2 separate regions of the Homo sapiens genome follow, and region 1 is linked to region 2. The links are contacts of gene promoters, found by promoter capture Hi-C in blood cells and fetal thymus (Javierre and others, 2016). All regions are on one chromosome and are shown on one strand. Each heading gives the region's core, a stretch centred on a gene start or on the middle of the fragment in contact. The rest is flanking DNA. Distances are from core to core; before and after follow the strand shown. Region 1 holds the start of LINC02106 (long intergenic non-protein coding RNA 2106). Region 2 holds the start of ITGA1 (integrin subunit alpha 1).

The links. The method cuts DNA at HindIII sites, captures the fragments that hold promoters and counts their contacts. A CHiCAGO score of 5 or more calls a contact.
Region 1: a contact is called between a fragment that was not itself captured here and the fragment with the promoter of ITGA1 in region 2, in 2 of 17 cell types (M0 macrophages and M1 macrophages). The highest score is 6.8, in M0 macrophages.

What each region holds. Positions count from the first base shown.
Region 1 is chr5:50,967,887-50,973,794 of GRCh38, forward strand. LINC02106 (long intergenic non-protein coding RNA 2106) reads right to left here and starts at 2,301. Exons shown (of 2, transcript NR_104653.1): 1 at 2,037-2,301; 2 at 1,331-1,691. RefSeq lists an enhancer at 1,781-2,302. The HindIII fragment of the contact is 184 bases long and covers 3,010-3,193 here.
Region 2 is chr5:52,784,604-52,790,607 of GRCh38, forward strand. It overlaps ITGA1 (integrin subunit alpha 1), which reads left to right and starts at 3,313. Exons shown (of 29, transcript NM_181501.2): 1 at 3,313-3,811. The coding sequence starts at 3,751. It overlaps PELO (pelota mRNA surveillance and ribosome rescue factor), which reads left to right and starts at 3,313. Exons shown (of 3, transcript NM_015946.5): 1 at 3,313-3,811. It overlaps PELO-AS1 (PELO antisense RNA 1), which reads right to left. Exons shown (of 5, transcript NR_186455.1): 2 at 932-989. RefSeq lists an enhancer at 3,001-3,280. The HindIII fragment of the contact is 1,585 bases long and covers 2,954-4,538 here.

The sequences.
Region 1 (5,908 bases), core at 1,852-4,351, 1.8 Mb before region 2:
CACCCGCCACCCCTTTTCTCTGAAATTCTCAAAGCAATTTCATCCTTTGCAGAGTTGCAAAGCTCTCCTACTGACTTGGGGTGTGCGGCTTAAAAAGGGGAGAATGGAGTAGCTCGAAAGGGAAGGAGGGTCACATTGAATTCTCCTTTTAAAAATTTTAATTTCATTGACACGTCTTGAAAGGTTTGTTTTGGTATAAGGCAAGGCTGCCAATTCCAAATACAAACAGACGGACACACACTGTGTGTATCAGATGTTGGGAATAAAAATGGTTTATTGATTGAAATAATAGAGGCATTATTTTGATTTGTCTTGACATGGACGCTGATTTATAGAGCTCTTCCCCCAGTGATTTCTTCTTGTAGTCCAGACACATGGAAATGATAAAAATCTCACCAAAGCTCACCTTGGTGCTAATCAAGACTGCTCGATGCACGTTATAAATCTGATACAATATTTATTGCTTATCTGTATTCGAGGGGTTAGTCTCCATCCTAGGATTGTCCCTTTCAAAAAAAATTTTTTGGATGCATCTGTTTTCACTTTGCACTTTCAACGGGCTGGAGCAGACAATAGTGTGAAAAACATCTGAAAATATGAGGCGACAGAGCTGCATGTGTGTTTCATTTCTGCGGTGTTAGGGGAGAAAATAACAAAAGAAACACACACTACAACACACACGCACGCACGCACACACACACACCGGCCCAGGACCTCAGCACAAAGGGCGCGCTGACCCAGCGCTAACACACAAGACAAATTAAAGAAAGGGGCAAATCGGAGGAGGGGCTAAGGCGAGGGTCCAGGCATTTCGGGAAAAGATCAAGGACAAGGAGAGTTAAGAAACTGACCGTGGGCCAGGGAAGACCGGAGAGAGAGAAAGTAAAGTGTCCAGGACTGGAACTCACGTCCCTGAGGCAGGGGACAGTAAGTTTGCTTGTAACACAGACAGTTTTCCTTGACTGCAGGAAACAAGAAAAATAGTAATCATAAAACAAGCACAAATCCCCCAAACATCAGGGGGGTAAAACCCCCATTATTAGCCATCACAAACCAAAACCCAAACCGAGTCTTTTCTGCTGAATTGCTGCAAGATCACAAGAGACCAAGAGATCCGGAGTCAGGCTGTGAACTTGGGAAAGATAAGTTGCCCGGCGAGGTTGGAGGTAGACTGAGGAACGCCTTTTTTTGTGAAGGACACAAATATTTGCAGAGTTTAAAGCTGCAGGAATACAAAAGCAGGAGTGAGATTATCTGATTACGGATACAGGATGTCCGAGTTGTTGCCTCCCAAAAACGACTGCGTAAAAAAAAATAAATAAAAGGCCAGTTCGAAAAGTGAAATTTTAATATCAGTGAAAGCATCGGAGGGACTCGGATTGAACGCGGCAGCTCCGGAACTGGACAACAGCTGCGTGGTGCAGCCAATCCCGGGGCCTGTGGGAACGAGCGACCGATCTCAGGACCACGCGGGCGAGAGCAAGGAGCCTCCCGGCCACACAGCCACAGGCGCTGCGGAACCCAGCCCGGACTCTCCCCGGCTGGAGTGTGCGAAGGGCTTCCCGCCCAGGGGCCCAGGGTGGTCTTAGTGAAAAAGGGATGGCGCTGCAGCACTGACCACGTTGCCCTGGTTTCTCCATTTCTCCTTCCCAAGTCTCTGCCTCTGTTTCCCCATGACCCGGAGGACGCGCCTACGGAAGAGACGTCTGGTCGAGGGGGTGCCGGGGAGCGGAAGGGGGAGGGGAAGGTCTCATCCCTGGGACGCTGACACCCCCCTCCCCGCGGCACTCCAGCTCCGAAGAGCGAGCTTCGGTTCCGCCCGCCCTCCAGACCATTTGCTTATTCTCACTATTGTTTTAATTTATTGTGCAGCCTGTTGCGCCGCGGGCCCGGCTGAGCCATTTGGGGCCCTCTAGATGCCCTGCAGGGCGCCTGTCTCCGGACGACCACCACGCAGGAGCAGCGGGGGCACGCGCGTGTTTTCTTGTGGATAACTGCCTCGGACTTGGCGGGGCCGGTCCCCACCTGAAGCTCACCTCAGGCAGTCGCTAGAAGTTCCAATCCAATCGTGAGCTTTCCTCTGGGAGGGACAGGATCCCCTTCAACTCCTGAGGCTGCTCCTCTGGGCGAATCCCACAGTAATTGCGCATTTCTCTCCCTTTAGTGCTTTGGAAATTTAGAAAGCGCGCTTTCATTTGTACATCGCCTGCCGACAGCCCCTTTGCTGATTAGAGAAGCCTTGTTCCCCCTCTCCACGCGTACGCACACTCATTTTTAGTTTTAACAAATGATTTAAAAATCAAAACAAACCTCTGAGTCAGTCCGCCCAATTTTATGCTCCATCTCCTCTGTGTATGTGTTAGATTCTCTCTGCCAATCGATGGGAAAGAGCATTTAGGGGCATTTGCAATTTCCTTTGTCACTTGCCACTCTGTGCGTATAGATTTTACATATCATTTGTTTACCAAATCAGTTCGTATTTTCTTAGCCCAGGGTTCAGGATTTTGCGTTTGTGGATTAATTGCCCAGTACCCAAAGGGCAGGACAGTCAGAGGAGCCACCTGATGCAAGAAGGATCAGCTCACGTTAGGACAAAACAAGGAGGTTGTTGTGAGCCCTTCTGCGGGCTCTGAATTAACTCAAACAGCCCTTCCTAGGACTTGTTAAAAAGACCGTACCTTGAAGGGATAGTGTGGTGCCTAATGTCTGCTAGCCTATAACTCAATGCATTACAAGGTCATTTTTGCCCAGCCCAAAGAAACTGAGTAAATCCAATGTCCCTGGTTGAAGATAATACGTAGTCACTTCATTTCTGGCCATATGGTGCCTACCTGCATTCTAGTCTTGAACAGTCTCAGGTTCCTTACTGGGTCTCACTTATTGATTTTTTTACTAGATTACATCATAATTTAATATGGCTGAGTGATGTGGAGCTTGTGGATGATCCTTTTATTGCCCTGATTAAAATCCACACAGTAAGAAATTTTTTAAACGGAGGTTGATGATGGAAGCTTCCTCAATAAGTATCCTTCAGTCAAGAAATGATTGAGCTTTAAATTATAAGAATCTCAAAATTACTGTGCAAGTGTTTGGCAATCAATTTCAGGTTTTCATGACAACAGGAGCCTAGGCCATAGGATGGCAAACTAAATTCAATGATCACTTGTCTGCTTCTGCAGATAATCTTAAAGGAAGCTTCATTACAATTCACCCATCAAACAACTGGCATCTCAAAATGCATCAAGAGCTTTGTCTATGTAAGCAGACAGCACATTCTATGGCATTTGAATTTTATAAAAATAACTAGTTAAAAGATATATTTTGAGGTCAGGCTTAATTTTTGTTTGGACCAATTTGCCTTATCATTTATAAAGGTATCCTTAGATGTATGTCGTTACACCAAGCTTTCAGCTGTCTCTAAGGACACATTAAGGTGAGGTGGTGCTGCTGTCTAAGATTCTAAGGACAGCATTCATGGGTAAACAACAGACAAGTCCTGTGCCCTTACCATTACTTCAGAGCACAGCAGTTCCACTGGATTCAAGGTGGCTTCTTCCTACTCTTGTCTTCATTATTGAACATAATTTGATCTTATTTAAGATGATAATAAGTTCCCTGACAGTCAGAGCATGCTGGTCAGAGCAATGTCTCTTTCTTGTGAATGAAAGGACAATTAATAGGAAACTCTGTTGGTCTTCTATATCGTCTTTGTTAGGATGTGGGCAGAGTGAGTCAATAAATAGAATTTGAAATAAGCAACACATATTTGCCCTCCAAATCTTAAGCTATAATTCAATATCTAATGGATTTGAGGAAAGAAAAAAGAGGTACCTGGTCTTCTGAGCTGATAGAGGGTTAGATTATAACCTGATTGAAGGACTGGCAAAAAGAGTAATAGACACAATTGATGGTGTATTTTCATTCAACCACCAGCTAGGCAGAAGAGATGTGGACCAAGGAAATTCCACCTCAACTTTCTTTATTCTGATTCCATGTTCACCAAGAAACTTTCTGATTATAATTGAAATTGCTGTTTATATCTGCTAAGTAATGGGAATGTATTTAGGTCTCTGAGATCTTTTTTGTGTATATATATATATATATATATATATATATATATATATACACACACACACACACACACATATATACATACATGTAAACACACAAAACGTTTTAATCAATGGATTCTGGTCTTAATCACTGTGGTTAAAGTGATTTTGCTCTGAGAGACAGTTTGCTAAGAAGTCAGGTTTCCGGCTAGGTGTGGTGGCTCACACCTGTAATCCCAACACTTTGGGAGACTGAGGCTGGTGGATCACCTGAGGTCAGGAGTTCAAGACCAGCCTGCCCAACATGGTGAAACCCCATCTCTACTAAAAATACAAAAAGTTAGCCAGGCGTGGTGGCAGGCGCCTGTAATCCCAGCTACTTGGGAGACTGAGGCAGGAGAATCGTTTGAACCCGCGAGGCGGAGGTTGCATTGAGCCGAGATCCCACCATTGCACTCCAGCCTGGGTGACAAGAGCGAAACTCCATCTCAAAATAAATAAATAAATAAATAAATAAATAAATAAATAAATAAATAAATAAAATAAAAGTCAGGTTTCCAAGCCTGTGAGATCTAGAATTAGGCATGGCAGACTATGAGGAGCTTTCCCAGAAAGATACCCAACCAACGTTTCAGGAATGGCCAATTACATCTTCCTAGTAGAAATACCACCTTATTGGCCATCTGCCCATACTTCAACAGACAGCAACTTTGCCACTGTATTTTCAGTCCTTAAACTTAGAAGTGTTTGAGAATTATTATTATTTTTTAGACAGAGTTCAGCTCTTTTGCCCAGGCTGGAGCACAGTGGTGGGATCTCGGCTCACTGCAAACTCCACCTTCCGGTTTCAAGTGATTCTCCTGCCTCACCCTCCTGAGTAGCTGGGATTACAGGCGCCCGCCACCGCACCCAGCTAATTTTTGTATTTTTAGTTTAGTTTAGTTTAGTTTGATTTAGTGACAGGGTTTCACCTTGTTGACCAGGCTGTTCTTGAATTTCTGAGCTCAGGCAATCCGCCCACTTCGGCCTCCCAAAGTGCTGGGATTACAGGAGTCAGCCATCGTGCCCTGCTGTTCTCTAAACGAACAAATCAAAACCTCACAAACGTCCCCAGCTTTTATCAAAAATTAACTTATCTAAACTACTGTTGAAATTAATTATAGCTTTGGTCTTCACCAAATCTTGGGTTTATTGTTTGATACCTATCACCGTAAAATATCAGGTTCTTTAACATTTAATGTAATTTAATCGGGTGTTCTCTAGGTGCTGAATTCTGCCTTTTAGTGAGTACAGAAGTTTTATTATTTTATTATCTTTGTTTGTAATTCTGTTAACCCTTTTCTTTCCTCAGAAAAAAGTACTACCAAATTTATTTATCTGCTGTCCCCACAGAAAACTCTTCATCTCCTGATTATAAAAGTTGTTTATCACTTTTATGTTAGTATTTTTCTTGTGTGGCAGACCACATTACATCTCCTACTTCAAAGATGAATGTACCTGAATTTTGTAAAAATTTAATACCTACCTTTAGGATTGTTGCAGGATTAAATTAGATAACCCATGTAAAGGATTTAGCCAATGACTGGCACTTAGTACGTAAAAATGTATTAATTGTTGCAAGTTTTAGCAGAGATGTCCCCTGGCTGAAAGTTTTAAGGGATGGACTATATTGACACCTGTTTCCTTTGCCTGTGCCTAATTGCTTGGAATTCTTCCTTCTTAATCACATATTTAGAATTATTTTTCCCTAAAAACATTTCATTAAAGTTGTTTATGTTCAGGGATTTAACATAAATGTAGAGATTGTTGCTTTTGCTGTGTAACTCTTTTTACAAATTATTTTAAACAAAGTTAAA
Region 2 (6,004 bases), core at 2,063-4,562:
TTCTCTTGTAAAAAAATTAAAAAAAAAAAAAAAAAAAAAAAACCTCTGACGGCCAGCCAATTTGAAAAGCAAATTCATGTGAACGTTATAATGGGTTCTGATGTCTTCATGCATACCCATTTTATAGAACTATCTTCAAGATAATTCCCTAATCCAAGGTAAATATTTTTAAAGCGAGGATTCCAGAAATAATAATAGGAGTTGATGGAGATATTTTTAGGCGGACATTAAAGTTCCTCTTCTGATGGCCATCAAATTTCACCACTTCCTACAGGGTCTACCACACGCAGAGCCTGCCCTGTTTACATGGTCTGTTTAATACCAATTCTTCTATTTACAGAGAAGAATGATTCATACTAACCGAGCACTTACTTTAATCCAGGCATTGTGCTAAATGCTCAGAGGCTCGGTTCATTTAATCCCCACAGCAATTCTCAGACCAGAAGTAGTACAGTATTTTCATTCCCACTTTACATTTGAGAAAACTGAGGCTTAGATAAACTTGATGACGTTTCCCAAATCACACAGCTACTATATTGTGGTTCCAGGACTTGAGTCCAAGCAGCGTAACTCCAGAACCTTACTTACTCTAGTTACTTTACTCAGTATATTAGATTAACTCCAAGAAGAATACTTTGGTTTTAAGTATATGTTTTTCTTTTTGAGATTATTGGTTAATAATCTCAATTACTCTTGCCTCATTTCATAGACATCCACTTTCCAAATTCTTAATCAGTTCAGTCTCTAATCTTTCAGTGCAGCCATCCCCAACCGTTTTGGCAGAGAGACCGGTTTCATAGAAGGCATTTTTTCCACAGACCAGGGGTAGGGGAAACGGTTTCAAGATGATTCAAACACATTACATTCATTGTGCACTTTATTCCCATTATAATTATGTTATAATATATAATGAAGTAATTATAAAACTCACCATAATGTAGAATCAGTGGGAGCCCTCAGCCTGTTTTCCTGCAACTAGACGTTTTCATCTGGGGATGATGGGAGACAGTGACAGATCATCAGGCATTAGATTCTCATAAGAAGCGTGTGCAGTTCACAATAAGGTTCATGCTCCTACTCATGCTTCCAAACCCTTAAAGAGATCTGATCAAATCAAGTCTCATTTAAAATAGAAAAGTATGTAGTATAAAGTCTAGAGCTGAAACATTTGTCATCAAGTGTCTCATATCAATAACTAGTTTGTGACTCTGGGCAAGTTTCTGTCTTCTCTAAATCTTTACTCAATGACATGTCTTTCTGTCAGTCAGAATAAAATTGGTTAAGAAAATAACCGGCTTGACATTTATTTGTATTTGGGTTTATTGAAGTTCAGAAAATAAGCACTGATTCTAAAATTAATTCTCTAACCATAGTTATCTCTCAGTCTCTACATTTGTATTGACTAGACATATAAAAGATTCATAAATATGTAAACATGTAAACATAAAATTTGTAACTTGTGAAAATTAATTGTAACAATATCACTGTTAGTGATGGTTATCACCAATAATTTGTAAGTCCTAGAGGAAATAAAAATATTAAAATTGAAATTATATATTAGCCCCCAGAAGAAAGGTAAATTTCCCAGTAATTGTAAACTTGAACATATTATATGTTAACCCTACTTTATTTCAATATTTTACAATTTCTTTTTGTTTTTTCTAATGAAATATATTGCAATTTGCTAAAATGCCATATATGTATTTGCATATGTATGTATATGCTGTACATATATATGTACACATACATACATACACATGATTGTGTATATATAGACACACTATTATATGTTTTTGAAAACTAAGCAATTTGGAGAAATATCATTGGGAAAGTACTTACTATGATTTTTAAATGTCTACGAATTAATCAATATCTATTGGTTACTGTTCAAAGCACAGAGAGTCATACTGAGAGGCATAAGACATAACTGATACTACCAACAGGGAAACGAGATATACACAGGAAATGAATTCCTTGGCAGGGTATGAGAGCATTGAACACAAACAAAGGAACTTAAGTAAAGTCCAATGGGATTGAACTGTGACCCAACATAATACAATTTTTCTAGAGACTCATTTGTGTAAATTTGAAGACAGAACTGAGAAATGACATTATAAAAACTAAAAACGGGAGAACGAGATTTTTAATGTATTTACTAAATAGTGAATCAGTTCAGATACATAATAGAAAAGGAATTTCTTGATTAATGGGTCAACATACTGAGATCTGATGGCCTTCAACCTCCTTGGGTCTGCCCACCCCATTTTTGACGCTCCTTAAACTTCTTCAACTTTTGTCTTCTCCAGCTTTTAGTTGCTGTGATCCTCTATCTGGCAATGTATCCAGTGAACCCTGTGGGCTTCTTCCTTCCTGTCCCTCGTGTTACCTGTTCTGTGCTACCTGTGTTGCGTTCTGCTCAACGAACCCTCCTTTGGGTGGCACTCTTGTCCTGCCTAGCCCTAGTTCTGCTAGAGATGCTCAATTAGTTGTTGAGTTGAAGAATTGAATTGAACTGTTTCCCTCAGATTCCTCTAAACACAAATCCACTTATTCTTTCTGTCTTTGAAATTCTCAAAACCGCTAAGACACAGCTATTTTGAAAATAGCCAGCATTGGTTGAAGCTAGGGTGAATATGGCTTTTGACTCAGAGAGGTTGTTCAACTCACCAGGAAAGGGAAGCATTGCAAGTTCCTAAGCACTTCTGGACTCTTAATGCATTTTCACTCGTGAAAGTTTCAAGCAAGAAAAAAATAAAGTAGTGCCCCGAGTTCTTTATTAGATTCAATTACCAGCGTACAAACATCCTAATTCACTTAAACAAAATAGCCCACACACATTCCATTTCCAAGGAGGCTGCTTTTCTTCCTCTCTTCCCTTCTCGCTCTCCCTCTTACTGTTTTTCCTCCGTCTTGCTTCTCCTTTTCTCCCCTTATCCTAGTTATCTCAAAGAAAAGCTTATCTGCAACCACCCTTTAACCACGAATTACCATAAACGAAGCAACCCCCCCACCCCCCCATAAGCGAAAGCAAAGCCCTCAGTGGAGCCTGTCGGGGTGGTGGGGACGCCCCCTTTCGTGCAAAACGACTTCACGGTGAATTTCAAGTGTCCGCAGGGGATGGAAGGGGGGATTCCAGATCCTCGCATTTTCACAGACGGCCTAATCCCTCTGCGCAATGGACCCGGGAAAGCTGCCTCCCGTTAAGGGCGCCCAGGCACTGTCAAAGCGCCCTCCCTGCCCGGGCCGGGAGAAGTAAGGGGTGTGAAGGCGGAGCCACTGGGCTGGCAACACCCTCCCGAAGGTCCAGCCCTTACCCGCCTTCCTACCACCTTAGGGGATTTGGCCCGGAGAACGAGATCACCCTCTCAATGAAAGGCAGATGTCCCTTTAAGGTTTGCTTCTACAGCCCGTGGACTTTAGCCTAAACACGGACCCGCGAAGCTGGCTTTATTTGTCCATGTCTCGGACAGAGCCTGGGAAGCTGCCAGTGAGATTTCAGAGACCAAGAGCGCGAAGGGGCGGGCGATGTGGCAATCCGTCTGGGATGTGAAAAGCGTGGAGCGCATTTAGAGGAATTCGACGAAAACACAGGAAATCACTCCTCTCCCGCTCCTGGGCGCCGCTGCCACTGGGGCAGAGGACTGGGAACCGCGGCAGCGGGATAAGTGGCCCAGCCAGAGAGCGCAGCTCCCGCGCCCGGTCCTGCCCTGCGAACCAGCGCGGCCCCCTGGCGCTGAGGCTGCTCCGGCCATGGCCCCTCGGCCCCGCGCCCGCCCAGGGGTCGCTGTCGCCTGCTGCTGGCTCCTCACTGGTGAGCGACTCGCTTTTCTCTGAGCATCTCCTGCTCGCGGGCTTGGGGCTTGGAGCGGGGAGGGAGGTCCTCAGAGCCATGGGCCAGATAGGAAGAGAGAGCGCCCATCCACTTTCGGGCATTCCAGGTACTCAGGCCAGGCTACGGGGCAGGCAGGAGTTTCGCGTTCTGGTTTTGATATGAATTAGTTTTCGTGTCTCTCCAAAGTCCTTCACCCTAGGAGTAGGAGTGAGGCAGCACTGAAAACCTTAGAAGGTAGAATTCACTTTTAAAATTAAAGTTGTTTTTACAATACACATTGTATATTAGGACTTTGCTGAATATTTCCTCCCCTCCACCCTTTTTTATGGCATGGGATGGGAGGGTGATGCTTATAGGGCGCCTGATACATATGCAAAATTCCTACCCTCGGGTTGTTCCAGAGTGGACATTATTGAATTTTCTTGCTGTCTACTATTTAGGCTTTTTTCCCATGCAGAACAAGAAAAGGCAGGGATGCAAGACGAAACTGCCACTTGTTCCAAAATGATGTTTCTATGTCAGCACCCAAGAGGAGGGATATTTTGAAACGTAGAAAGGAATGGTGAACATTTTCTCTGTAAATATCACAGGGCAGTCTACTTTTAAGATGCAAAATATAGTATTGTTATTTGTACATAAATGTGTATTTTTAAGGAGGGGACTTAAAAACATAGTGGAAATGCAAAGTTGTATCCAATTTAGAAAAAGCTTGAAATATAGCATTTTGTAAGATTTTCCCAATAATGAACTCATGGTCAGATCTTTTTTACCAGTTACTGATTGGGGTGGGGGAAAGTTGAAATGGTGAAAAATGGAAGAAGGTGGGGGGAAAGTGTATCGATAGAATCTCTGTGTGAAAGAAAATCACCTTATTAATGGGTTAATTAACAGCTGGCTTTAACATATCATTGATATTCAATTGTTCAGTGTTTTTACTGCTGGCATGGTTATTAGTACTAGTTAATTTAGCATTTTTACCACTAAAAACAGGGTAGAGCCAGCTAGTTTAGACCTGCCTTAGATGGCCAAGCATTGTTAAGTTTTATGAAGATGATTTAGAAGTTGATTATCAGCAAGCAGAGCTTTTTTCAGAAGGGAGGTAATGTAAAGAGAGTTAATAATTAGCTACTGGCTTTTCATCCAAACATTTCCCACTACTCAGGAAATGTCCAATAATCCAAACAGTGGTAACTGCTGAACAGCATTATAGCCGGTGAGTGGTTTAACTTACCAGCTACTGCCACTACTTTTTACACATATTTGACCTATGATTCTTCTCCAACTCAAATTTTTTTAGATTGTATTTTGTTGTTTTTGTGCAAAATCTGAATACAGTAGTTTACTATCCAAGTTGTACTTTTTCATTCTACCAAATAAGCAGTCTCTAGAGTAGAAATGATGAAATGAGGTTTGCGTATCCTCTAAAAAGACAAGAGTGAAACTTGAAGTAACAGAGAAGTTTAACAAGTTACAATTTCATATATATGTTGGTGAAATATACATTGGTGAATCCAGGAAGAGACTTAAAATATTTAGAAACCTTGTGTGCACTATATTTATGCCCATTTCGCAACACATGAGGGATCTGAAATTGGACTGCTTTCCCATCAGTCATTATATTCTGTAGGCTCTTCTTTAGCAATCTCTTTCAGATTTGGAAACTTCTCATCAATTCAGAGTCCGTTTGTAACCTGGGGACTCATCACCATACTTATCCATGCACACTACTGTAGAGCTTATCTTTCTGTCTTCAATTTGAACCCAACTTCCAGTCTACCCTCCTAATACATCATTTTTACTATATCTGTTTTTAGTCAAAAATCTTTGGTGGTTCTTTGTTGCCTTTAAGATAAAATCCAAAATTCTCAACTGACTGCCCTAATCCAACACCCTCTCTCTATCTCCTACTACTCCTATGTCAGTTTCTTATTGCTGTTGTAACAACTTGCCATAGATCACCAGCTTAAAACAACATAAATTTACTATTGTACAGTTCTGTAGGTCAGAAGTATCACTGGGCTAGAATCAAGATGTCACCAGGGCTGCATTTCTTCTGGAGGTTCTAGGGGAAAATCAGTTTCCCTGTTTTCACCAGCCTCTGGCCACCACCTGCATTCTTGGCCTGTGGCCCCTTTCTCCATCTTCAACCGAGCAGGGTAGAATCTTCAGATC